Linked DNA regions of Homo sapiens: region 1 is linked to region 2. The links are contacts of gene promoters, found by promoter capture Hi-C in human tissues and cell types (Jung and others, 2019). All regions are on one chromosome and are shown on one strand. Each heading gives the region's core, a stretch centred on a gene start or on the middle of the fragment in contact. The rest is flanking DNA. Distances are from core to core; before and after follow the strand shown. Region 1 has its middle 42 kb from the start of VPREB1. Region 2 holds the start of ZNF70 (zinc finger protein 70).

Region 1 (6,288 bases), core at 3,188-5,687, 1.5 Mb before region 2:
GAAGACCTGGCTGGAGGGACCCTGGGGTCCTCATTGCCTGGAGCCAGCCCAGGGGCAGGGGACATGTTAGTCACTTGTGGTCCTCCTGCAGGTTCTCCCAAAGAGGCATCTGAGTGGGACACTTCCATAGCCGCCACCAGCACTGCTGCTGCATTCCCCCTCAGGACAGGGGTAGTGCCTTCCTTCCCTGGCTCATCTACCTGAGCCCCATGTGAAGTCAAAGCTTAGGTGTCTCAGGGCTTTCCCCCAACAGGCCCTGCAGCCACTGAGACCCTTATATACCCTGAGCTGCATGCTGTGGAGAGAGGGTCTGTGGAAGACCTTGGCTCTTAGCCATCGACTCCTCTGGGGAACACCATGAAATCCTCAGACTGGGGATGTCCTCTGGAGCCATCTTTATCCTCTTCTTCTTCCCAGTATCTCCTGCTCCATGATCTGGGTCCTGTCCCTGGCCCTGTTGCATCTCCAGTGTCTGATCCATGCCAGCCCTTCCTTAAATATGTGTTGAACCCATTTCCCATTTGCCCAAGAAATGAGTGCTGGCAACGAGCTGCACTTTTTTTTTTCTAAATGGGAAATGGGTCAATAAATGAATGAATGAATGAATGAATGAATAACAACGCAACCTGAGTCTCCTGTCACATGGTTATTTTAAGACCTGCATTTTTCTTTACCCAGGAGGAAAATGAGTCCCTGCAGCTGTTATTGCCTCTGAATTGAGCTAACTTGTTTCTACACTGTCATGCCATGGTCACAGTGGGACAGATGTACACCAAGCCTACCATAGCTTTCAGCCCTGCCCTTCCACCCGCCCCGCCTGTGGCAGTGATGGCATCAAGGCTTCCCTCAGAGTCGGCCTCTACCCACCACACACTCTGGGCCATCTCCTGCTCTCTGACAGCCTGGGGTTCAGTGATCCCTGTCCATGTGTCCTACCTCAGAGACACCTGCCACTCCTCCCCTTCCCTAATTTCTCTGCCATCCTGTTTCTCCAGCCTCCCAGGAATGTCCCCTGCCCAATCTCCTGTCTCAGGTTCTAGAACTTGTCCTGGAACTTCCCCAGAGCTGAGTCTCTAATAGGAGAGCTGATGACAGGCACAGCCGCGGTCAAGCCCTCTAGCCAGCAGATGGAGGAGAATCAGCCTGAGGGCCCTGTGCATCCTCCCTGCTGCACACCTGGGCCCATAGCCCCCTCCACCCTCCATATGCTCCTGCAGCCCCCACCTCAGTGTCTGCCTCAGTGTCTCCTCCCAGCACCTTCCTCAGGAAGGGCCTGAGATCTTGCATGGTGTGTTTCCCCTTGGTGAACTCCTAGTCACAGCAGCATCCTGAGTAAGAGCCTCCTGGTGAAGAGATCGTCTTGGTGCTCCACCCTGGCATTGTGTCCTCAGCTCCAGGGCAGGTCACATGCTTTCCTGGACCAAGATTACATGCAGTCCACCCCTGCTGGCCCCTGCCCCACAGAGGGAGGCCCGGGGTCAGGGGTGGCACCAAGACCACAGCTCCACTGATCCCTGTAGGAATTCTTCCTGCATGTTTGAAAGACAAGAGTTACAGAAACAAAGCAGAGGGAAGATTCTGGATCATTGCAAAAGGAGAAATTTGCCTGCAGACCAGCAGGGGGCGCGGTGAGAACTTCTCTGTGTATTTCTGCAGGACAGGTGCTCACAGCTGGGGAGCCCTCAACTGACAGAGGCCCAGGGCTGCTCCTTCACTTCCTCCTGGGACTCTGCAGCCTTGTCTCATCTGTGCCTGGCAGAGTCCTCTACACATGACCCTGTGTGTGGTCCCAGCAGCTGCTGCTTTCTCTGGTCCCACCCGTGGGGCAAACTCTTGCTTCATGCCAGCCTCCCTGTCCAAGGGTCTGGTCCCTGCGAGTGCACCTGCGGGAGAGGCAATGGGGAAACACATTTGCATGGTCAGCCCCTCCTCTGTGAGCCCAGTGACGCTGGGATAAGAGAGGCCTGGGGCAGCCCACCCCTAGGTCTGTGGCCTCAGAGGCAGCTGTGTCCACTATGGCCCTGACTCCTCTCCTCCTCCTGCTCCTCTCTCACTGCACAGGTAGGGACAGGGCTCAGAGCCCAGGGTGGTCCCCAGCCTGATCTGTCCCTCATGGCTCAGATCCCTCAGCAGCTGCGCCCTGACCCTGCTCCTCACTGTGCTGTGTCTGTGTCTGCAGGTTCCCTCTCCCGGCCCGTGCTGACTCAGCCGCCCTCCCTGTCTGCATCCCCGGGAGCAACAGCCAGACTCCCCTGCACCCTGAGCAGTGACCTCAGTGTTGGTGGTAAAAACATGTTCTGGTACCAGCAGAAGCTAGGGAGCTCTCCCAGGTTATTCCTGTATCACTACTCAGACTCAGACAAGCAGCTGGGACCTGGGGTCCCCAGTCGAGTCTCTGGCTCCAAGGAGACCTCAAGTAACACAGCGTTTTTGCTCATCTCTGGGCTCCAGCCTGAGGACGAGGCCGATTATTACTGCCAGGTGTACGAAAGTAGTGCTAATCACAGTGAGACAGATGAGGAAGTCGGACAAAAACCAAGGTTTTAAGCTTGTCATTTTTACTGAACTGGTTAAGAACTTCAGTGGTTAATAAAATCACATTAAATACTGGATTGTTGTTAAAAATGGTGGCACATTATAACTCTCTCCCATTTTTTTCACATAATGCCCATAGTGACTCTAAGCAGCTAAAATCAAAACACAAAAACTTATACCAATACTAAGAAATACTAACATTACTAACCAATTTCCACTAGTAAAAGAGTTGTGAAACAGCTGAAATACATCCAGATGGCATAATACATAATACCACTATATACAAGAGTTGTATAAAATTATGTATCATGTATATATAAAATTATGTATCATGTATATGTATAATATATGAAATAAAATGTCAGCAGACATTACCGTCTTCCCACCAGTAGCCAGCAATTCTGCCCTGCCTCTAGAATAAATGGTTACCATGGGTTGAATAGGTGAACAGCCCTGGCAGCTCTGCAGGATGACTCTCACTGTTTGTTATTGTTTTATTTTTAAGATTGCTTTTCTTTCCTTTTTTTTTTTGAGGCAGAGTCTTGCTGTCAGCGAGGCTGGAGTGCAGTGCAGTGAGCTGGGCTCACTGCAACCTAAGCCTCCCTGGTTCAAACGATTCTCCTGCCTCAGCCTCCTGAGTAGCTGGGATACAGGCGTGCGCCACCATGCCTGGCTAAATTTTTTGTATTTTTTAGTAGAGACGGGGTTTCACCATGTTGGTCAGGCTGGTCTGGAACTCCTGACTTCGGGATCCGCCGTCCTCGGCCTCCCAAAGTGCTGGGATTACAGGCGTGAACCACCGTGCCCGACCTCTTTTTTTTTTTTTTTTTTTTTTGGTTTTGTTAGTTTAGTTTTGTTTTATCTCTTTAACTTGACAGAGATGATCCATGTGGATCTCTGCATGGGTCTGGGAGCTGCAAGGCTCCTGGTGCATGGCCCAGTCCCGCCTGCCTTGGCAGGGCTCCTCCACCTGGCTCCTGGAGGAGCTGCTGCGCCCGACTACCCTGCATGGAGCCCGCGGCTTAGCGGCAGCTCGGGAGGGGCCTGATAGAAACTTCCCCCTGAGCAAGCAGCGCCAAACCCAGGCCGCCACCCAGGATGGAGGCTGCATCACCCCCGGGGAGCCCGGATCCTCGCCAGGGTCCACCAGGAGAAGAGCACATGGCGGAGATGAGCCTGCGGGGCTGGGAGAGAGAGAAGACACGGCGAAGATGCAGGTGAAGACGCTGCACTAAGGCCCCACCCAGAGGCTGAGGTTCCCCGACCAGACCAGCAGCAGCGAGGCTGCCCAGAGCGGCGCCAGCAAGGTGGTTCTCTCCAGGTCGGATCACAGGAGAAGCTAGCCTTGCACCTGGCCCAGGCGAGAAGCAGGACATGGGCTTACGCAGAAGAATCAGCACCGATTCCACATCATTCCCCATGGCAACGGCCTCTACGGTGCTGTCAGCAAGACCCAGTGCTAGACCCGAGCCTGCACCAGGAGCTGCGGAGCGGAGGGTGCGCCCCATCCCGATCGTCTCCACCACTTTAGCTCCCTGGGTGAGGGTGACACGGGGAAGCTTATTATCGCGGCTGCCCAAAACGGGGCGTGGCTGGGTACCCTGTGTACATAGGGTAGATGCTGAATGTGAATAGCACTGAACTACTAGAGGGAGGCTGGAGAGGCCCACAGTGTCTATCTACCATGATTCATTATTTGGGCCCAGAGGATTGCCTAAAGCCTAGTATTTGGCTCAGTTGGCTCAGTAACGGGCACTAGGATGCAGTATTTGATCACTCCTATCCTAACCAAGTACGACAACTGGTGCAAACAGACTCAAAAGCAAAAGGCAACGCAATGAATAACTTGCTCACTCTGGGGCCACATATTCTGAATAAAATGCCTACCCTTGAAATGTCTGAAAACCTTACACCCTGGGAAAATTGCATACAGAACTTGTGCTTGGAGAATGACATGAACTCTAATCAGGGTAATAACACTTGTAAAGTTCCTAACAGCTTTTCTTTCCTTTTTTTTTTTTTTTTTTTTTTTGAGATGGAGTTTCGCAGTGTTGCCCAGGCTGGAGTGCAGTGGCGCGACCTCGGCTCACTGCAAGCTCCGCCTCCTGGGTTCACGCCATTCCCCTGCCTCAGCCTCCCGAGTAGCTGGGACCACGGGTGCCCACCACCACGCCCGGCTAATTTTTTGTATTTTTAGTAGAGACGGGGTTTCACGGTGTTAGCCAGGATGGTCTCAATCTCCTGACCTCGTGATCCACCCGCCTCGGCCTCCTACAGCGCTGGGATTACAGGCGTGAGCCACCGCAGCTGGCACTTCCTAATAGCTTTTCTGTGAGTGTAACGCCATAATCATCTTTTAAAATGTTTTCTCGGAACTAAAAGTTGCTGGGCGCCTAAATGATGTTGCATGATAGTTTTGGGTGATTTTACTGCATCTGTAATTTTCTGTTTAAGTGAGCACTGCTTAATTTGAAAGCTAATTTCTCACAGTGTAAATCTGTTCATTCCTGGTAGTCTATTTTCTACAAAAGTGTATTTTTACACAACATTAAAAAATGGTGTACCTTCATCTATGACAGTACATTACTTTTGACAAGCAGCTTTCAGGCAGAAATTAAGAGAAGTGTTTTATATAAAATTTATTATTTTGAACAGAGTTTGTGATTTGGTAGTTACGCTGTTGAAATTTGAATTTTACAATTCTTAGAAACTTATATTGATGCATTCTTGTTACCAAATGATTGGCCCATTACATTTTGATACAAATAGATTTGTTGTTTTGGAACCATTATTTGTTTAGAAATGGTCAATCTTTTAGAGAGAAATACTTAACAAAGGATTGTGGGAAGTTTTTTTTTTTCTTCTTCTTTAACGGATTGTACCAGGTCTTACTTGAATGAAAGTCTGATGCTTGCTGATGGCAGAGTGACTAATCTGCACTAGATTGATGTTAGAGCAGAATGTTGGGTGATCTCAATTGTTTTTATTTATGTTTGTGATTTTGTTTTAAGGTAATCTTAACATGGTATAAGACTCTGTGACAAGCTAAACCTACTGCAATATAGCATGTTGGAGTCCCCTAAGAGTTTTAAAAGCTAATGGCATAAATGCCTGGAGCCAACCTCGGCAGTTATTTCATAGCAGAAGATACCGTCTTAATACTCCTTTTAAATTCTTTTAAAAGGCAAAATAGGATCATCCTATTTTATAATGTACAAATGTCTGCAGAGATTGTATGGTTTGTTGTGTTAATGTTTCCCACCTAAAATCTATCATATTGCCACTTTGCCTAATTGTAGTCACATTTATTAAGTAATGCAGTTTGTACTTTTTATTTTGTAACATTCTGTGATTTTTGTACAACATTGTATTTGTACAATACAGCAATTCCCAGTTGATTGAATGAATAAATAAAATGTAAAATCATACTTTATAAAAAGATCTATGTGGCTGATAGAATTCTGACATTCCCCTCCAAATGGAAAGTGATGTGTTTCTTTAAAGTAAAGGTAGAGGAGTCTTAAATATAGGTGTTCCTGCCCCTATTGAGAGGTTTTCAAAACATGCTCTTAATTTAACGTTTAAATATACCAGAGTCTTAGAATGTGAGAATAATGAAATTGGTTTGTTTTAATTTTGTGATAATATTAAATCTACTGGAAAGAATATTCTCCTTTGAAAAGATTCTCAGCTCAGTGATCATAGAACCTGTACTTGCGTTTAATTCAATGAGGAAAGACATAGAAATGCCAC
Region 2 (6,749 bases), core at 3,192-5,691:
CAACCTCTGCCTCCCAGGCTCAAGTGATCCTCCCACCTCAGCCTCCTGGGACTGCAAGTGTATGCCACCACACTCTGCTAATTTTTTTAATTCTTTCTTTTTGTAGAGATGAGGTCACACTGTATTGCCCAGGCTGGTCCCCCCAACACTTCTAATTTTCCAGCTCAATGACTAATTTGCACTGCTGTTGTCTGGTCCTAACAGGTAAGGACCATTCTCAGACTGCCACTTGCTCATCCTTCAGGACTCGTCCAAATGTCCCTTTTTCTCTGCACCCTCAGGTTCTTGACCATCTCAGGCCCCCATCGTTAGCTTGAAAATTCCCTAAGGGCAAATACTGTGCTCCTTCATTTCAGAATCCCCAGCCCCCAGCACAAAAGCACAATCCCAATGTACACAGTTGTTGAATAAATTATCAAATGGAGGAAAAGCCATTTGTTTTTCTAGAACTGTCACTTTTTTTGGTCAAAGAACACTTTAGTCAAATAAGTCAACTGTCTAGGACAGGGGTCCCCAACCCCCAGAGTGGGGGACAGGCACCAGTCTGTGGCCTGTTAGGAACCAGGCCGCATAGCAGGAGGTGAGCGGAAGGTGAGCGAGCATTACAGCCTGAACTCTGCCTCCTGTCAGATGAGCAGTGGCATTAGATTCTCATAGGAACTGGAACCCTATCGTAAACTGTGCATACGAGGGATTTGGTTGTGCACTCTTTATGAGAATCTAACACCTGATGATCTGAGGTGGAACAGTTTCATCTCAAAACCATCCCCCATGTCCCCCACCCATTCATGGAAAAATTGTCTTCTGCAAAACTGGTCCCTGATGCCAAAAAGGTTGGGGATCACTGGTCTAGGAGACATAAATAAATAAAACAGACAAGTCCGGGCGCGGTGGCTCACACCTGTAATCCCAGCACTTTGGGAAGCCGAGGTGGGCAGATCACGAGGTCACGAGATCGAGACCATCCTGGCTAACACGGTGAAACCCCATCTCTACTAGAAATACAAAAAAATTAGCCAGGCGTGGTGGCAGGTGCCTGTAGTCCCAGCTACTCGGGAGGCTGAGGCAGGAGAATGGCGTGAACTCAGGAGGCAGAGCTTGCGAGATCATGCCACTGCACACCAGCCTGGGCAACAGAGTGAGACTCCGTCTCAAAAAATAAATAAATAAATAAAAATAAAAATAAAATAAAACAGACAAAAGCAGAGCTGCTCCAGTTGAAGGAGGGCGCGTTAGCAGGGACAAGGAAGGAAGCTAGAACAGCCCACTCAGCACTCCCCCTCCCAGATGTGGCCCCTGAGGAAGCCCCAAAGAGCCCTATTCAGAAACTTCTGTGCTAGATAAAGGCAAAGTCTTCAGGTGACACAATAATGATAGCAACAGCTCATATTCACTGAGCACCTACTCTGTGCTAGGCACTAATAGGTCCTTCAAGGCACCTCATTTAATCTTCACAACTCTATACAAAGGCACAATTATCCTTATACTGCATCTAGAGAGTAACTGCCTCAGAAAAAAAAAAAAAACTAAATTAATCAGAACAGTCATAACAGAACTCATTTCTACTTGGAAAAAAAAATTTTTTTTGAGACAGGGTCTCACTCTGTCACCCAGGCTGGAGTGCAGGAGTAGAATCACAGCTCACTGCAGCCTTGACCTCCCCGGCTCAACTGATCCTCCAACCTCAGCCTCTCAAGTAGCTGGGACTACAGGGGCATATCAACACATCCAGCTAATTTTTTAATTTTTCTGTAGAGATGAGATAATATTATGTTGCCCAGGCTGGTCTTGAACTCCTGGGCTCAAGCAGTCCTCCCACCTCTGCCTCCCAAAGTGCTGGATTACAGGCATGAGCCACCATGCCCAGCAGAAATGATTTTTTTTTTTTTTTGAGGTGGAGTCTCACTCTTGTTGCCCAGCCAGGAGTGCAATGGCCCAATCTCGGCTCACTGCAACCTCTGCCTCCTGGGTTCAAGCAATTCTCCTGCCTCACCCTCCTGAATAGCTGGGATTACAGGCACCCGCCACCAGGCCCGGATAATTTTTGTATTTTTAGTAGAGATGGGGTTTCACTATGTTGGCCAGGCTGGTCTCGAACTCCTGACCTCAGGTGATCCGCCCACCTTGGCATCCCAAAGTGCTGGGATTACAGGTGTGAGCCACCACGCCCAGCCCAGAAATGATTTTTTTAAATGATTTTTCAGCCAATAGACCGACTGGATATAAAAAAAAAAGAGCACTGAACTAAAGTATTTTCTTTTTCCAGAATGGAGTGCAGTAGTGTGATTACAGCTCACTGGAACCTCTGGCTCCTGGGTTCAAGTGATTCTCCTATCTCAGCCTCTTAAGTAGCTAGGACACCATCCTGGCTAACACGGTGAAACCCTGTCTCTATTAAAAATACAAAAAAGGCCGGACGCGGTGGCTCACGCCTCTAATCCCAGCACTTTGGGAGGCCGAGGTGGGTGGATCATGAGGTCAGGAGTTCAAGACCAGCCTGGCCAAGATGGTGAAACCCCGTCTCTACTAAAATTACAAAAATTACAGCGCGTCTGTAATCCCAGCTACTCCGGGAGGCTGAGGCAGGAGAATCGCTTGAACCTGGGGGGCGGAGGTTGCAGTGAGCCGAGATCGCGCCACTGCACTCTAGCCTGGGTAACAGAGCGAGACTCCATCTCAAAAAAAAAAAAAAAAAAAAAAAAAAAAAAAAAGCCGGCCGTGGTGGCAGGTGCCTGTAGTCCCAGCTACTTGGGAGGCTGAGGCAGGAGAATGGCGTGAACCCAGGAGGCGGAGCTTGCAGTGAGCCGAGATCGCGCCACTGCACTCCAGGCTGGGCGACAGGACGAGACTCCGTCTCAAAAAAAAAAAAAAAAAAAAAAAAAAAGTAGCTGGGAATACAGGCTCTACAGGCACGTGCCACACCTGGCTAATTTTTGTATTTTTTGTAGAGATGGGTTTTCGCCATGTTGTGCAGACTGGTCTCGAATTTCTGAGCTCATGCGATCCACCCATTTTGGCCTCCGAAAGTGCTGGTATTATAGGCGTGAGCCCCCTCGCCCAGCCCTAAAGTATTTTCAAAAATTCTTTGATCACTTCAACTCCTCTCACCCTCCCCCTCCTCTTCAGCAACCCATAATCTCCAACTCTTCCAGCTCTCTCACTCAATTTGTGCTTTTCGACCTCATGAAATCCAAGCCATTTTTACTGTAGTTCTCCTTTTCTAGCTCCACCCCTTCTCCATCCAGCTTAGACTCTCCATACTATGCGCATCACTTCAACTCTCACGCTCTAGCACCATGCTCCTCACCTCCTCGTCCGGCTGCAACTAGCCGCTAAGTCCCAGTCTTCTCGGCCAGTTCCTCCTAAGTTGTTAAATGTTGCCAAGAAAAATCATACAACTATGTATGGCACCACGACAAATTTCGAGTTTCCGATTTCAGCTGGGACCTCAGCTCTGGCATTCTATGACCTCCTTATTGCCAATCCCTCTCTTCTCGGTCTTCACCTTCCCACCCCATCTGGCACTGCTCTCCAATACCTCCTTCTCAAAACCCTTCATTTCAGAGGTTGCAAATTGGCAGCCTGAAGATCCTGCTATGTTATGTTTGGCTCTCGAAGAGTTTGGCTTTTCCTGTTCATTTTCCTTAGTTACCAATATTTAAAACTCAGTAGGTTTCTGGCTTTCTCTTGAAAAACGAAGATGTGACAATATCCCTTCACCCGCCCACATTGCCTACCTAGGTGCATGAAAGCTTTGAGCTACCCCCCAACCCCATCCCCACCCTCGCTTTCTTCCCAATTTTCATGGCTTCCAAGTTCTCTTTCTTGATATCTTTAGATTGCAACTCTTCCTCCGCCCACCCATTAAGTCCTGGTGTTCTCAAACTTCCCTCCGTAGAGGTTTTCCATTCCCACTATATAGCCCCTACACCCTGAAGTCTCCACTCAGAAAAAAGTTGGCAACCCTTTATCTGTCTCCCACAACATGATAAGTGTTTTTGGACCGAAAATGCAAAGATCTGGAACTCCATGCTTCCCACCTCTGTCGGGGCCTTCTCCGGGTCCTCCTGCATCTGTCATCCCATCCTCCAGAGAGTCCCTAGGGCCTGGGCACCCTGCAAACTCTTAGTGCAGTCAAGGTTTCCTGGCTGGGGGCCCAAGAGTTGCCACGGACCCGCACACGCTGCCCAGGCGGCGACGTGGCGCCCCTACAGGCTTCCCCGCGATTGGGGACACGCACACCCAGGGCCACCGGAGGGACAGGTGGTCAGGCGGACTCAGGTCACACCGGCGGACGCGGGGCCACTCACCTGGGCCGGGGCGGGGCAGCTCACCTGGGCCGGGGCGGGGCCGCAGGCGGGCGGGGCGGGGCCGCACCTGAGCTGCTCCAACCCGCGGCCGACGCGGCCGACGCTGCCTGGCTCCACAGCAGCTGCTGACGCGGAGCCCGCGGCCGCCCGAGCACCCAGAGCCCCGCCCCCGGCCCGCGGGCACTTCCGGGACCACTCTAGGCCGCGCGGAGGTCCCGGCGTCTCGGTGGTCCCACCGCGCCGGTTGTCGCCGCGCGAAGCCGCCCGGGCCCCGGGACACAAGGACCCGAATCAGGAGAGTCTCTCCAGTCGGCATGGTGGCTCTGGCCGTCCCCGAAGCGCGTGCTGGACGTGGGGGAAACAGAGATGGGCAGGCGTTGGCAGGAGAGCAGAGGAGGAAACAGGTCCGGACGGGCGGGCCGACCTCGAGCCGCCGGCACTCGGGGCATCTGCGCTGGTGCTGGGTGCAAGCCAGAAGCCACTGAGGCAGCTGGGGTCTTCAGGGAAAGGAGAGTGGAGCCCCAGAGCTGTCGACCCTGTCACTGTCCACAGGCACCGGGGTCCTGTTAGGATCCCCCTCCCCCAACCTGCTTCAAGGGTAGCCCTGTTCCTGTCTGCCCTCCCCGCCCCCACAGAAATAGAGATGAGAAGGGGCAGGCGAAGAACTAGGAGTGTCTGCGAGACCATCCCAGGACCCTGAGCCCCCCAACTCTCTGCATCCCAGGGCTGACTTCGACATGAAGCGCCTCCTCTCAGGCGCACCGGGAGGGAAGAGGAATGTGTTCTTGAAATGGCCGCCCCCTTGGCCGGGCGCGGTGGCTCACGCCTTTAATCCCAGCATTTTGGGAGGCGGAGGCGGGTGGATCACGAGGTCAGGAGTTCGAGACTCAGCCAGACCAACATGGTGAAACCCTGTTTCTACTAAAAATTATCCGGGAGTGGTGACAAGCGCCTGTAATCCCAGCTACTGAGACAGGAGAATCGTTTGACCCTGAGAGGCGGAGGTTGCAGTGAGCCAAGATAGTGCCATTGCACTCCAGCCTGGGCGACAGAGCGAGACTCCATCTCAAAAAACAAAAAAAAAAAAAAGAAAAGGAATCTCCGCCCCCTCCTTGCTGCTGATGGCAAGACTGGCCCCTCCACCCAGTGTTCTGCCCATGACACCCCCCCCTCAGGTGCAGCTGCCCAGCTTGTGGGAGAGCTTCCCTCCGCAGACCTTGGCCCAATCACAGGACATCAGGAGAACACACTGTCCCTGGGAAAAAGGATTCTGCCCCAGCCGCCCACCTGCCTTCAGCACCCTCAGCCTTGGCGCTCGAGTGCCTCCAATGCTACCCACACACACCTGCCTTCCTGCCCCATTAATGCTCTGTCGGGCCTTGGGCACAGACTCCAAGGGGTAGGCAGTGGCTGCCCCTCCCCAAGCCAACAGCCTGAGCTCCATGGGGACCAGCCACCCTAGAGCCATAACCCTTGGACCATAACCAGCCATGCAGAGTTGGGGGCGGCAAGGGCTGGTTCCTTTTTCTCCCTCCGGCTCCTCAGGTCACAGGAAGGTCAGGCTACCAGTTTGAGCCCCCAGGGGGCCATGGTGGGGGAGTCTGGGCCATGCCCCAATAGTCTCAGGTGCTTCCTCTTTGACAACAGTCCCCAGAATCCCCATTCCCCCGCACACTGCTCCCCACCCCAGGAGTGGGTCTTCGACTCCCAGACCCACCACAGTCATTTTTCTCAGCCAGGATCTTATGACCCTCACAATAGCTGTTGTTGACATGTTGAATATTATTAACCCATTTTACAGAGGGGAAGCAAGGCTCAGAGAAAGTTTAAAAGGGACCCAAGGTCAGGGGCAGAAATGGGAGGCAGAGGGGAGGCACCCATCTCACACCCCACCCCTAGGGACTAAAGCCGTAGCCAACAGAGCAGTAGTAATCCGCGTCGTCTTCAGGCTGCACGGGACTAATGGTGAGGACACAGGCATTGTGGGCCTCATCCTTGGCTGCCGAGAATCGATCGGGGATGTCAGCAGGCCGGTGGTGATCCTCCTCCGAGCGGTAGTAGAGGAGATATCGAGGGGCACTGCCTGCCCGCTGCTGGTACCAGGACACACCGTAGTCCCTGATGGTGACGTGCTGGGGGCTGAGCGTGCAGGAGAGTTGAGCCACTTGGCCTGGGAAGACCAGCAGTGCATCCAGCTGGGCCAGGACTGTCTGGGAAACTGCGAGACACAAACCCACTCAGCCTGAGCCCCTTCCCTCCCACCCCTGCCCTGTGAAGGCTTGGTTGGACTCCATGGAGACTCCCAGTCCCAAAGGGCTCATAGCCCAGTGCTATGGGATTAGCAATGAACGGGGTGCAGGAGGCCTGGTTCTGTGTGACTTAGGGTGCCCTATCTGGACCTCCATCTCCCTTTGTGAGTGAGGGGTTTGGAGTTAGCCC

Evidence for each region. Contacts are between HindIII fragments. The study calls those that stand out against the background at their distance.
Region 1: a contact is called between a fragment that was not itself captured here and the fragment with the promoter of ZNF70 in region 2, in 1 of the 25 tissues and cell types used here (spleen).

What each region holds. Positions count from the first base shown.
Region 1 is chr22:22,199,660-22,205,947 of GRCh38, forward strand. It overlaps IGL, IGLV11-55 and the pseudogene LOC100419915. Among named protein-coding and RNA genes, the nearest start is that of VPREB1, 42 kb to the right of the region's middle. RefSeq lists an enhancer at 872-1,681 and a silencer at 1,496-1,790. The HindIII fragment of the contact is 6,097 bases long and covers 1,390-6,288 here.
Region 2 is chr22:23,746,671-23,753,419 of GRCh38, forward strand. ZNF70 (zinc finger protein 70) reads right to left here and starts at 4,442. Exons shown (of 2, transcript NM_021916.4): 1 at 4,041-4,442. It overlaps VPREB3 (V-set pre-B cell surrogate light chain 3), which reads right to left. Exons shown (of 2, transcript NM_013378.3): 2 at 6,073-6,528. The coding sequence ends at 6,206. RefSeq lists a silencer at 4,158-4,607 and enhancers at 4,200-4,875, 4,758-4,817, 5,658-5,717, 6,228-6,749. The HindIII fragment of the contact is 11,413 bases long and covers 431-6,749 here.